3 separate regions of the Homo sapiens genome follow, and regions 2 and 3 are each linked to region 1. Evidence: promoter capture Hi-C in 16 types of primary human blood cells and fetal thymus (Javierre and others, 2016). All regions are on one chromosome and are shown on one strand. Each heading gives the region's core, a stretch centred on a gene start or on the middle of the fragment in contact. The rest is flanking DNA. Distances are from core to core; before and after follow the strand shown.

The links. Contacts are between HindIII fragments. The CHiCAGO score rates a contact against its expected background, and 5 or more counts as called.
Region 2: a fragment that was not itself captured here is called in contact with the fragment with the promoter of SPRY2 in region 1 in 1 of 17 cell types (M2 macrophages); the score reaches 5.6 in M2 macrophages.
Region 3: a contact is called between a fragment that was not itself captured here and the fragment with the promoter of SPRY2 in region 1, in 1 of 17 cell types (naive B cells). The highest score is 5.1, in naive B cells.

What each region holds. Positions count from the first base shown.
Region 1 is chr13:80,338,963-80,342,802 of GRCh38, forward strand. SPRY2 (sprouty RTK signaling antagonist 2) reads right to left here and starts at 2,164. Exons shown (of 2, transcript NM_005842.4): 1 at 1,660-2,164. RefSeq lists an enhancer at 1-17 and silencers at 2,112-2,301, 2,532-2,581. The HindIII fragment of the contact is 9,098 bases long and covers 1-3,840 here.
Region 2 is chr13:80,063,838-80,067,677 of GRCh38, forward strand. No RefSeq gene overlaps it. Among named protein-coding and RNA genes, the nearest start is that of LINC01080, 55 kb to the left of the region's middle. The HindIII fragment of the contact is 8,120 bases long and covers 1-3,840 here.
Region 3 is chr13:80,618,085-80,621,924 of GRCh38, forward strand. It overlaps the pseudogene HNRNPA1P31. Among named protein-coding and RNA genes, the nearest start is that of SPRY2, 280 kb to the left of the region's middle. The HindIII fragment of the contact is 222 bases long and covers 1,819-2,040 here.

The sequences.
Region 1 (3,840 bases), core at 914-3,413:
GACTGACGCTGTCCATGGGCCAGGCTGCCCCCCTGCTTACGATCCCCAGACTCAGACAGGCGGGGGCCGCGGGCGCCTCCGAAGGGTACGTGTCACGAAATGCAGGAGCACACTTCCCCCGCCTCCCTCTCCCCAGCTAAGATCTCCCCCAACTCAAGAGAACTGCCTTCCAGCCCCAAGGAGCCACTCCGCCCCCAGGCAGAGGTCACGCCGCCCACTGCCAGGCTTTCTGCAAAGCCCCTCGGACATCCGGCACAGGTTTCCCACCCCGACACTGCGAGCACGAAAGCCCTGCCTGAGACACGCAGCCAGGACGCACAAGTCCAACCCACGCACACACGGCGACTCCACGCTGCACTGACCGAAGGGGGCATTGCCTGTAATCTGCACACGCCTATCTCCTTTTGGGTCGAGAGAAAAAAAAAAGATATCATATTTCTTAAAGTGAAAGAAAAATGGCTTTTTAAAAAAAGGGCATTTTCCAGGGTCCCACTGCTCACTCCGGGCGCGCAGGACCCAGCTCCCGGAGCTGTAAACTTTCGGTGCAGATTTGCTTGCAGTCAAAGTAGCATCTTTGAAATAAAAGGGGGCTTTTTTGTTTTTATTTTTTAAGTGATTTCTGCCGATCCGATCCCTGGCCTCCTTCTTCAAAGCTGGACTCCCTACCTCCGCCCCTCTTCTCTTTCCCAGTCCCCCCTCCCCTTTGAAAGTGCTTTGAAACCCCCATTAAGAACAGTGTGTGATCAGACTGAGGATTAGGGGAAAAGAACTTCAGCTCTAGGGTGGGGCAAACGGACACAGAAACTGCTTTGTAAAAAACACACAAGAATCCAAATTAAAACACAGCAACAACAACAACAAAAGGAAATAAAAAATTGCCTATTTTGCCACCTACTTTCAGGTAATGGAAAATGATCGCGACCGCTTGATGACTTTCTTCCTGCGCTGGGTCAGCCCGAGCTTCCAAAAATAAAATAAGTGTGACCCAGGCTGACCACGAAGAACGGAAGAGAGAGAGCTGCACTTCCGAACCGCAGAGACCCGGCGCCAGGCAGGGCGACGCTCCCACCCGCTCCGGGCTAGACTGTCCACACGGAGCAGAGGCGGGCACTCCCTCCACCCGGCACCCTGCCTTTTTCTCACCCTGGAAGTCTCCTGCCCCCGAGGCGGGCAACCTGTGTCCCCCAGCCCCACCAGCGCCCCGCCTAGGGACAGCCTCTCCCTGGACTTTGCCTTCCACCAAGAGGAAGAACAGGTTAGAAATGCGGGCGCCTGCAAAGGCAACCTGGAAAATACAAAGTGTTTTTCTCTCCCTCTCCCGCTCTCAGCGCCGAATTCGCGGCCAGTGCACGGCTGGGAGCAGACTTCAGGCTAGCTGTCCTCCGTCCCAACCCCCTAGAGCGCGGGCGCGCGGGGTCGCCTGTCGGGGACACTGCACGGGGTGCATACAGAAGTCCCCGCAGAGGCAGGCCGAGCCCAAGCCCCGGGCGAGGCAGGTCCGCGGGGAGCGCCCCGGATCCTCGCGAAGACCCTGCGGGATTTGAGAAAGGGAGGCTCGGGGAGAGACGGACCCAACTCCTGGTCCGGCTGCACCTACTCCATGTTGCCCACAACGCGCCGGCCGCGGCGCCAGGAGGGGAAGAGCCAAACGTGCCTCACCGTGATCGCGGCTTTGCACCAACCCCTCTCCCTTGGATTCTCTTCTTTCTGCGATGTGCAAATAAATCCAGTCTCGATGCAAACTTTTTTCCTTTCTTTCCAACCTCTGCTTTAGACCAACTTCCGAGCAATCGGCGGGAGAAAAAAAGAGAATTCGGAGCCAGATTCCCCGCTGATGAACACTCCGGGGTTCGGAGCTGGAGACGACTCCCCTTCTACAAGCGCACGCGGAGTATTTCCTCTTTTTTCTCAATGAACAAGAGGCCGAAGCGCCAACGGCAAGTCCCTTTTCCTGGCAGATGAGCGAATGGGAAAAGAAAACGGCCTTACGGAGAACCTAAAGCCAGATCGCCAAGTGGTGCGGCCGGGGCCGCGTCGTAGCGGAGGCGGCGCGGGGGCGCGGGCCGGGCCGGGCCGGGCGGGCGCGGGGGCCTGGGCGCTGCGCGCTCCGCCGGCCCCTCTCCTCCGCTAGCGCTGCGGCGCGCAGCTCTCGGCGGTGCAGACTGGGCGTTGTGGAGGCGAGGCAGCGAGGCCGAGGCGGGGGCGGTGGGTGCGGAGGAGGAGGAAGAGGAGGAGGAGGAGGAGGAGGAGGGTCTGGGGCCCGCCCGGGGGGGGCTCGCCGTTGGCCTGCGCCCTCGCCTTTCCGGAGGAGGCAGGGAGCTCTGCGGCGGCCGCGGCAGCAGTAAATGGCGTCATGTGGATCCGAGGCGGAACAGAGCAGTTGTTGTCCCAGAGGATATATCGCATCCGGTCCCAGCTCATTGGCTCCGCGGGGCTACATTCACTCACACTCCAGCGCCCGCCAGCGCTCCGAGCCGCAGGAGGCATTCAAAAGGGCAACCGCGCCGCCCCGCGCGTCCCCAGGCCGGTCCTGCCGCCCGAGCGCCGTCACGCGGGGCGCCCGCGGGGCCGGGCTGGGCACTGCAGGGTCAGTTTATCTAGTTTCAAGGAAACACTGACCTTAAGGTTTGCCCAGAGGCAATGAGGACGAGCCAGAGGCTCGAGCTGACTTAGGGAACTTTCTCCTTGCCACCAGGAAAGGGGAATGAACATTTAAGACTAATCTGGGCCACGCAGTGTTAGCATGAAAAACAAGTTGCAGGTTTTAAGACTTTATCCAGAATCCATTTCAAGTCTACCTCTCCCCTTTTCTGTTCCCCTTTGCGGAGCGGGTGACGGGGGCTGGGGCGGGGGGAGAAGAAGGGGGAGGGGAAGGGGAGCGGGAAGTGAGGTGGGAGGGCTATTGGTTTATTCTTTGTCTACTGGATTAACCCGATTATACACCAGGCACCAGCACAAACCGCCTCCCCCACCTCCGAGCCTTGTACGGGAGGAACGGAATGCAGATTCGAGTTTCAAGTACCTTCTGCTCTTGCTGGGATTTGCTTTTGATTGTGTCGACTTGTAGTTTTTCCGTTTATTAGAATTTCATTTTTAAGGGGGGTTATCTATGAATGGAGGCTTTTTGAAGAGCTTCCTTACTATTTTGCTTCATGCAGTAGCTAAAGTCTACAGTCTAAGCCTTTTAACTTAATTCATTAATAGACAGGAACAAGATTACTCAGGGCGACAGCATGGGCTTCCGAAATGGGGGGGCGGGGGGGAGGGAAGGGTTGGCTCACTGCAGATTTCCTTCTTCCCTTAACTAAAAGTCATCCTTCATTTCCCACTTTTCTTGCCACCTAGAACATTTCTCAAGATTCTGTTGTCCATGTTGAAGGTGCACTATTCTTTCCCATTTACAAAAAAAAAATAAAGATAGAAAATGCATACATATGCACTGTCCTAGCTGCCGTTCATTTACTAAGAAATGTGCCTTCACGTGGGAGCACCAGTGGAAAATTAAAACTTGCGCATACACACGCCTAATATTGCATTCTGTCGAGCGACTTACAGAATGCTTTTACTTTACAGGGAAGTACCTGCTTGTACGGTCAAAATTCCCGAATAGCACCTGCGATCTTGCCCCATGCGGGGTGTTCTTGAAAGCAGTGTTAGGAAAACATGGTGCTTCACTCGTCCAGCTTTAACCCAATCCATTTGCAGCTACCCTGGAACTAGCTGCCTTCTTCTGAGCTCCTGCTCTAGAATGTCCCCAGCGCGCTCTCTGCCTCGCTGCGGTCTCACCCTGACTTCTCCATGTTTCTCTAGGGCTCTCCTCTTTCTCTAGGGATTTGGAAC
Region 2 (3,840 bases), core at 933-3,432, 280 kb before region 1:
GCAATGACGGGTTGGCTGGGGAAAGAGGCTGAGTGATGTCCACAGAACGAGTCATCCTATCCACTTGATTATTAAAATCCTCCTCTGCTGAGGTCACCCGTTGGTGAACACTCACAAGAGATACAAATATCTTCACAGTTTTTGACTACTCAGAGAGGTCCATCCACATACCTCTTCCCCAAATTTCTTTGTCATCAATTTTCCAATTATGCTTCTTCCAAGTCCCTGACCATCCAGCCAAACCATTGGCTGCAGCACATGAATCAATATATAATCACACATCTGGCCATTTCTCCTTCCATGCAAAGTGCACAACCAGGTGCGCTGCTCGAAGTTCTGCCCACTTGGAAGATTCCCTTCACTGTTGTCCTTCAGGGATGTCCTAGAAAGGGGCTGTAGTGCTGCAGCTGTCCACTTTTAGGTGGTGCTTGCATATCATGCAGAACCATCTGTGAACCAGGTCCTAGTCTTCTCCTCCTCTGTCAACTGATCATAGGGAACTCCCCATGAGGCCATCGGTGCAGGCTGGGGGAGAGAAGGCAAGGTGGCAGTAGTGGAGACCATAAGCATTCGAGTCACTTCCTCATGTAACTTACTTGCACCTTCAGGACCTGCTCGAGCCCGATCATGTATATGCCACTTCCATTTGATGATGGAATGCTGCTGTGCATGACCCACTTTATGGCTAGATGGTTCAGAAAGCACTCAGTTCATGATAGGCGGTTCAGGTCTCATGGTGACTTGATGACCCATAGTCAAACGTTCAGTCTCCACCAAAGCCCAGTAACAGGCCAAGAGCTGTCTCTCAAAAGGAGAGCTGTTATCTGCAGAAGATGGCAGGGTCTTGTTCCAAAATCCTAGAGGCTTCTGCTGTGATTCACCTATGGGGGCCTGCCAGAGGCTCCAAACAGCATCCCTATCTGCCACTGACACCTCAAGCACCATTGGATCTGCTGGGTCATATGGCCCAAGTGGCAGGGCTGTTTGCACAGCAGCCTGGACCTGTTGCAGAGCCTTCTTCTGTTCTGGACCCCACTCAAAACTGGCAGCCTTTTGGGTCACTCAGTAAATGGGCTGGAATAACACAGTCAAATGAAGAATATGTTGCCTCCAAAGTCCAAATAGGCCCACTAGGCATTGTGCCTCTTTCTTGGTTGTAGGAGGGCCAAATGCAGCAACTCATCCTTCACCTTAAAAGGAATACCTCAGCAGGCCTCTTGCCACTGGACCCCTAGAAATTTTACTGAAGTAGAAGTTCCCTGAATTTTAGTCAGATTTATTTCCCATCCTCTAGCATGCAAATGTCTCACCAATAAGTCCAGTGTGTTTGCTACTTCTAGCTCACTGGATCCAATCAGCATAATGTCATCAATGTAATGGACCAGTGTGATATCTTGCAGAAGCAAAAGGTGATCCAGGTCTCTTAGAATAAGATTATGACACAAAGTTGATATACCCCTGAGGTAGGACAGTAAAGGTATATTACTGACCTTGGAAGCTCCAGGCAACATCTCTCACAGATACACCCACACTTTGTATCCTTCATTCTTATCAAGTTGACACTCAGAATTAACCATCACAATTTGTTAAGCACAGGAAAAGAATTGAAAAACATATTCCTAAGATACATATCTTTTTTTTCAACATAGGTGTTCTTCAGCACTACACAATTAGCATATTCCTACATCATCTATACAGCAACTCGTATATCTCCACTGATTTAATTTCCTTATCTGTCCTAATTACTTACTTGATTGTTCAAATATACACACTTATACAAAATTCAAACATAAAGAAGTAGATGACCACACAATATGTCCTATTCACTGCTCCTTAAAGACAAGTGGGGTTCATATATTTTCCAAATATATACCCGAGAACAATATCACCAGGGGAGCAAGAAGTAGCAAACACACTGGACTTATTGGTTGAGACATTTGCATGCTAGAGGATGGGAAATAAATCTGACTAAAATTCAGGGAACTTCTATCTCAGTAAAATTTCTAGGGGTCCAGTGGCAAGGGGCCTGTTGAGATACTCCTTTTAAGGTGAAGGATGAGTTGCTGCATTTGGCCCTCCTACAACCAAGAAAGAGGCACAATGCCTAGCATGCTGACTTGTTTACCAGGGGCTGCCAGGGATAGCTGACTAAATGACTATTCTACTCAGAGGCTTGACTAAAAGGGAAGATGAAATATAAAGTGATAGCCAAAAAAAAAGAAAACACTTGAGTGCATGTTGAGGCTTTTCGAAGAATATTATTTGTCTTGTTTTTCATTAAGATAGTAAAGGTTTGAAAATCTTTACCAGGCTGAGGAGAAAATCCAGTAGAAGTAAGATAATTATGAGAATGGAGCCTAATGGGGGTAATGTCTCCAGTAGATGAAGTGGAAAGTGATTTATCTGACATTTGGCTTATGGAAAATTTAATTCACAAAATATCAAGTACAGAGGGATTTTGAAAATCATTAAATCTCCTCTCATTGGGCAAATTTTTAAAAATACAGCCCATATAGTTAAATGGCTTTTCCAGATTCAATCCTTTGACTCCAATTTTAATTGTGAATCTCAACTCAAATGTTGATTGAGGTTGTGAGGAAATTTATAGAGCTACTTCTTCCTGGAAACTCTCCGGATAGGGCCTGCAAGCAGAAAAGAAAGAAGAAAGGCAAGGAGGGAAGGAGGGAGAGAGGGAGAGAAAGAAAGAAGGAAGGAAGGAAGGAAGGAAGGAATGAAGGAAGGAAGGGAGGAAGGGAGGGAGGGAGGGAGGGAGGGATGGAGGGAGGGAGGGGAGGGGAGGGGAGGGGAGGGAGAGAGAAGAAAGAAGAAAGAAAGAAAAAGAAAGAAAGAAAGAAAGAGAAATCCTTTAACTTGCATTAAATTTCAATTTCTTCTTATCCAGTTCTCTCATGACCTCCTGACATGTTGGATAAATTAATGAAGAATAGATGAATATTGTATTAGTCCATTCTCTTTTTTTTTTGAGAGAGAGTCTCGCTCTCTCACCCAGGCTGGAGTGCAATGGCACAATCTCAGTTCACTGCAACCTCCGCCTCCTGGGTTCACTCCATTCTCCTGCCTCAGCCTCCCGAGTAGTTGGGACTACAGGTGCCTGCCACCACGCCTGGCTAATGTTCTGTATTTTTTTTTAAGTAGAGACAGGGTTTCACCATGTTAGCCAGGATAGTCTCGATCTGCTGACCTTGTCATCCGCCCGCCTCAGCCTCCCAAAGTGCTGGGATTACAGGTGTGAGCCACCGTGCCTGGTGTTTTAGTCCATTCTCACACTACTATAAAAAACTACCTGAGACTGGGTAATTTATGAAGAAAAGAGTTTCATTGATTCACAGTTCTGCAGGCTATACTGGAAGCATGGCTGGGAGGCCCCCAGGAAACTTACAATATGGTGGAAGGCAAAGGGGAAGCAAGCACATCTTACCATGACAGAGCAAAAGAGAGAGCATGAAGAGGGAAGTGCTACACACTTTTAAACAATCAGATCTTGTGAGAACTCACTATCACGAGATCAGCAAAGGGGAAGTCGGCCAACAACATTGGAAATTACAATTCGATATGAGATTTGGGTGGGAACACAGAGCCAAACCATATCAAATATCATATGCTTTTCACACATAACTTCATTCAATTTTCAAAACAGTATTAATATATTTCTGCATTATCAATGTAGAACTGGGATTCAAAGAAGATACTAAAATTTTCTAAGTTCGCACAGCTTAGAGTTGGAGTTAAGATTTGGAACCAAGTTTTGAACTCCTGCTATAGATCAACTTCCCTTATCCTCAATATTTTACTGTAGGTGCTAACTTATCCTTAACATTG
Region 3 (3,840 bases), core at 680-3,179, 280 kb after region 1:
GGGTTTTGTTTGCTGCAGTGAAACAGTAGTTGCAGGCTGACCATGGGAGTGGTTGCAAAAGTCAAGTGAAAATCAAGCCTTTTCAGTTGGGACAATCAGCAAACTCTAAAGCCATTAGGTCTTAGAAGAGTCATCTACATTATTTGGGGGTCTCTCCAAATTATGACTCCTGTAGTTTGGATATTTGTCCCCTGAAACCTCATGTTGAAATTTGATCTGTAATGTTAGAAATGGGGACTAATGGGAGGTATTTGGGTCATGAAGGCAGCTCCCTCGTGAATAGATTAATCCCCTTCCTGGGGGAGGTCACATGAGTGAGATCTCACTCTCACTCTATTAGTTTCCAGAAGAGCTGGTTGATAAAAGGAGTCAGGCACCTTCCCTCTTGCCCTTGCTTCTCTCTCACCATGTGATCTCTGCACACGCCATCTCCCCTTCACCTTCTGCCATGAGTGGAAGCAGCCTTTGGCCCTTGCCAGGTGCAGATGCCCAATCTTGAACTTTTGCAGACATCCGGATCATGAGCCAAATACATTATTTTCTTTTATAGACTACCCACCCTCAGGTATTCCTTTATAGTAAAACAAACTAAGACAATGGCACTGAGGAAAATTAGGAGGTAGATGCCAAACCTTTAAGGTGGTATGTACGTTAAAGGAAAATTTGCTTTTGAAAGCTTTTTTTTAAAAAGACATTTTTTCAGTGTCACCATTAGCCTATTATGTTTAGCAATCAGCAGCATGGGTGCAAAAAAAAATCTACATTAAACATTTTGTTGGAATGCCGTATGTTTTCCACAAAGCAGAAACTAAAATAACCTGTTATGCAATTAGTTACAAATTTAGTTCTTGAGTCTTTTGCCCATACACATGAGTATTGTCTAAGGCATGTCTTGTAGCAGCTATGTCCTGCCACCACAGGGCTTGGCTGAATTCACAAATCTGTTGTAAACTGTAACTTTCCTGTCACTTCTCTGGCTCTTTTCTCCACTAAACTTTGTTTCCTGGCAGAAATTAAAACCTTCTGCCACTGTCATAACTACTGCTGCTATTGGAACCATCATTGTAGCCACTATGGTTTTGTGGTTGGGCAAAGTGTTGACTTCCACCATTAAAGGGTCTAGAGCTTCTGCCTCCAAAGTTTTCTCCCCTCGTGGCTTCAAAATTTAAGGATTGCTTATTGTAATTGCCAAAATCCTTGTAGTTTCAACCACGTCTCAAACTGCTCCCATCATTATCAATTCCATTATAGCCATGCCCACTGTCACTGTATCCACCACCACCATGATTGCTACCAAAACCTCCTCAACCACTGTGGCTTCCTCCATGACTCAAGTTGTCATCCCCATCGGAATTACCTCCACAACTTCAGCCAAAGCTTCCAGAACTACTTTAACCTCTTTGGCTGGATAAAGCACCAGCCATTTCTTGTTCAGACAGAACTTTTTTACTTCACAGTTGTGGCCATTCAAAGGATAGTATTTCCAAATGACAGTCTTATCCATGTAGGCATGGTCATCAGAGGTTACAGAAGCAGAGCCCCTCTTCTTGCCATTGCCTCAGACAGTTATGATTTCAATCACTTTAATGTTTACATACTGTTCAAAATAATTACTTAGGCATTATTTTTCAGTGTCTTCTTTAATGCCACCAATAAAGATCTTTTTTTACAGTTAAGCAGGCCCCTGGTGTTTGAGAATCTTCTCTTGAGACAACCCTGTTTGGTTCCACAACTCCTTCATCCACCTGTGTGTCCTTGCATTCAAGCTGCATCCACTTCCACCCACCTCCACCACAGTGGCATATGTGACAAACCCAAAGCTTCCCGAGCATTTGGATCACTTATTGCTGTACAGTCCAGTAAGCATTCTCCATTGCTCAGAATGGCTTCTCAGACTCATTGGTTGTTTTAAAGCGCAACCTTCAAACAGATGAAGAGTTTCCTCAGCTGTTTAGGCTCTTTAGGAGACTCTGACTTAGACATGATGGCAGCAGGAGAAGAGATTTAGAGATGCTTTCTCCATGGCATTCACCAGTAGAAAGCTTGAAAACTTTTAACTATCAAAAAGTAAAATGTAATGCAACACTTTTGGTATTGTAAATCCTGTATTATTTGGCTTCCTGTGCCCGAGGTTCTCTTAAGTAACAGTGGGGAAAATAGATTCCAAAAAACGATGACAAACAAAAATGAATGAACGAATAATGGTGGGTCTATGAGGGTAGTAGAAAAAAGAGAAAAGAAAGTTTTGAAGAGATACTCCAGGGTTTGTCATGCTTGAATGTCCACTGCAGTTCTGCCATTCCTGACCAATGAAATTTGGCCAAGCTAATGAATCAGATTGCTCATCGGTAAAATAGAGGTAATATTGCAACTATTGTATATGGTAGTAGTGACAATTAAATATCACCTGTTGTGTACTTAAAATAGTGTATGGCAGCAAGTGCTTAAGAAATGTTAGTATTTATTATCACTGCTTTTTATTTATCTAAATCATAATTAAGATGACAAACACTGCAAAAAGGAAAACAGATCATAATAAAGCCATATATATATATATATACACACACACACAAATATACATATCAGTATTTATAAAAATGTTCCGTTTAATCATGCAAATAATAGGGTCTTGGTAGGCAGTCTCTTTCTATTTTCCACAAATTCAAAGCATTGTTTCTGAATAGGCTCAACTCTGACTGTAGGGCCCCTTTTTGATATCTGCAAGAATCACCAGCAACAGAATCACCAGGACACAACCTAGCATTTCAGAGTTAGAATCCTTCTGCTAGAAAGTGGAAGAAAAGGAAAGATGTCATTTACAATGTTGATTTTAGGGACAGCTCGTTCATCTCAAAGAGATCAGGCTCCCTGCTCTCAGAAAATCTTGGGATTAGGCTTTTTTGTCCTCTTTCACGATTGCGTCCTTTTAATAAAATGAATGAATGTATCAGGAGAGGAAATAATAATTATAAAAATTTTTAATGTATTATTATTTAAGAATATATTTCCTAGAAATAATTACTGCAAATTTTTAAGAAAGTTGAGGCTCAGATTTAAATAGATGAAAAGAATAGTCTGTTCTTAACACTTTCAACAAAGTTATAAATATGCATATTTCTGAAGAGCTAAGATTATTTTTAATTCAACAGAAAGAAACTGATGAAATATTTGTATTCCCTGTACATGTGAGCTTGTACTGCATTTACTACCATGACATGCAGTGAGTCTAGAATTGGCCTGGATGAGTATGTCATCCCTAGGCCTGGATTCTTTTCTTGGGAATATTGAAGGGGATTCTGCTTACTGTGGGAAGAAAGTTTTCCTTTAATGATGAATTTATCTACCCGATTAAAAAAATACATATATATTTTTGGAATTTGTTGAGTGGGTTGTGTTCTTACTATTCTTGGTACACTGACTGTGTCTCCCACATTTAGCCTACCACCTTACCTCTCAAAACAATTGTTACCAGGTACCCAAATTGTCTTTCTCCCAGTCATTATCAGTGTGTAAAGATCATCTGAGAAGTGATAAAAGGGAGTCTTTAAAAACTTTAAGTTTTCCACTTTGGGAGGCCAAGGCGGGTGGAACATTTGAGGTCAGGAGTTCAAGACCAGCCTGGGCAACATGGTGAAACTCTGTCTCTACTAAAAATACAAAAATAAGCCGGGCGTGGTGGAGAGCACCCAAAATCCCAGCTACTCAGGAGGCTGAGGCAAGAGACTCGCTTGAACCTGGGAGGCAGAGATTACAGTGAGCTGAGATCGTGCCACTGCACTTCAGCCTGGGGGATAGAGTGAGATTCCATTTAAAAAAAAAAAAAAACAGAAACTTTACGTT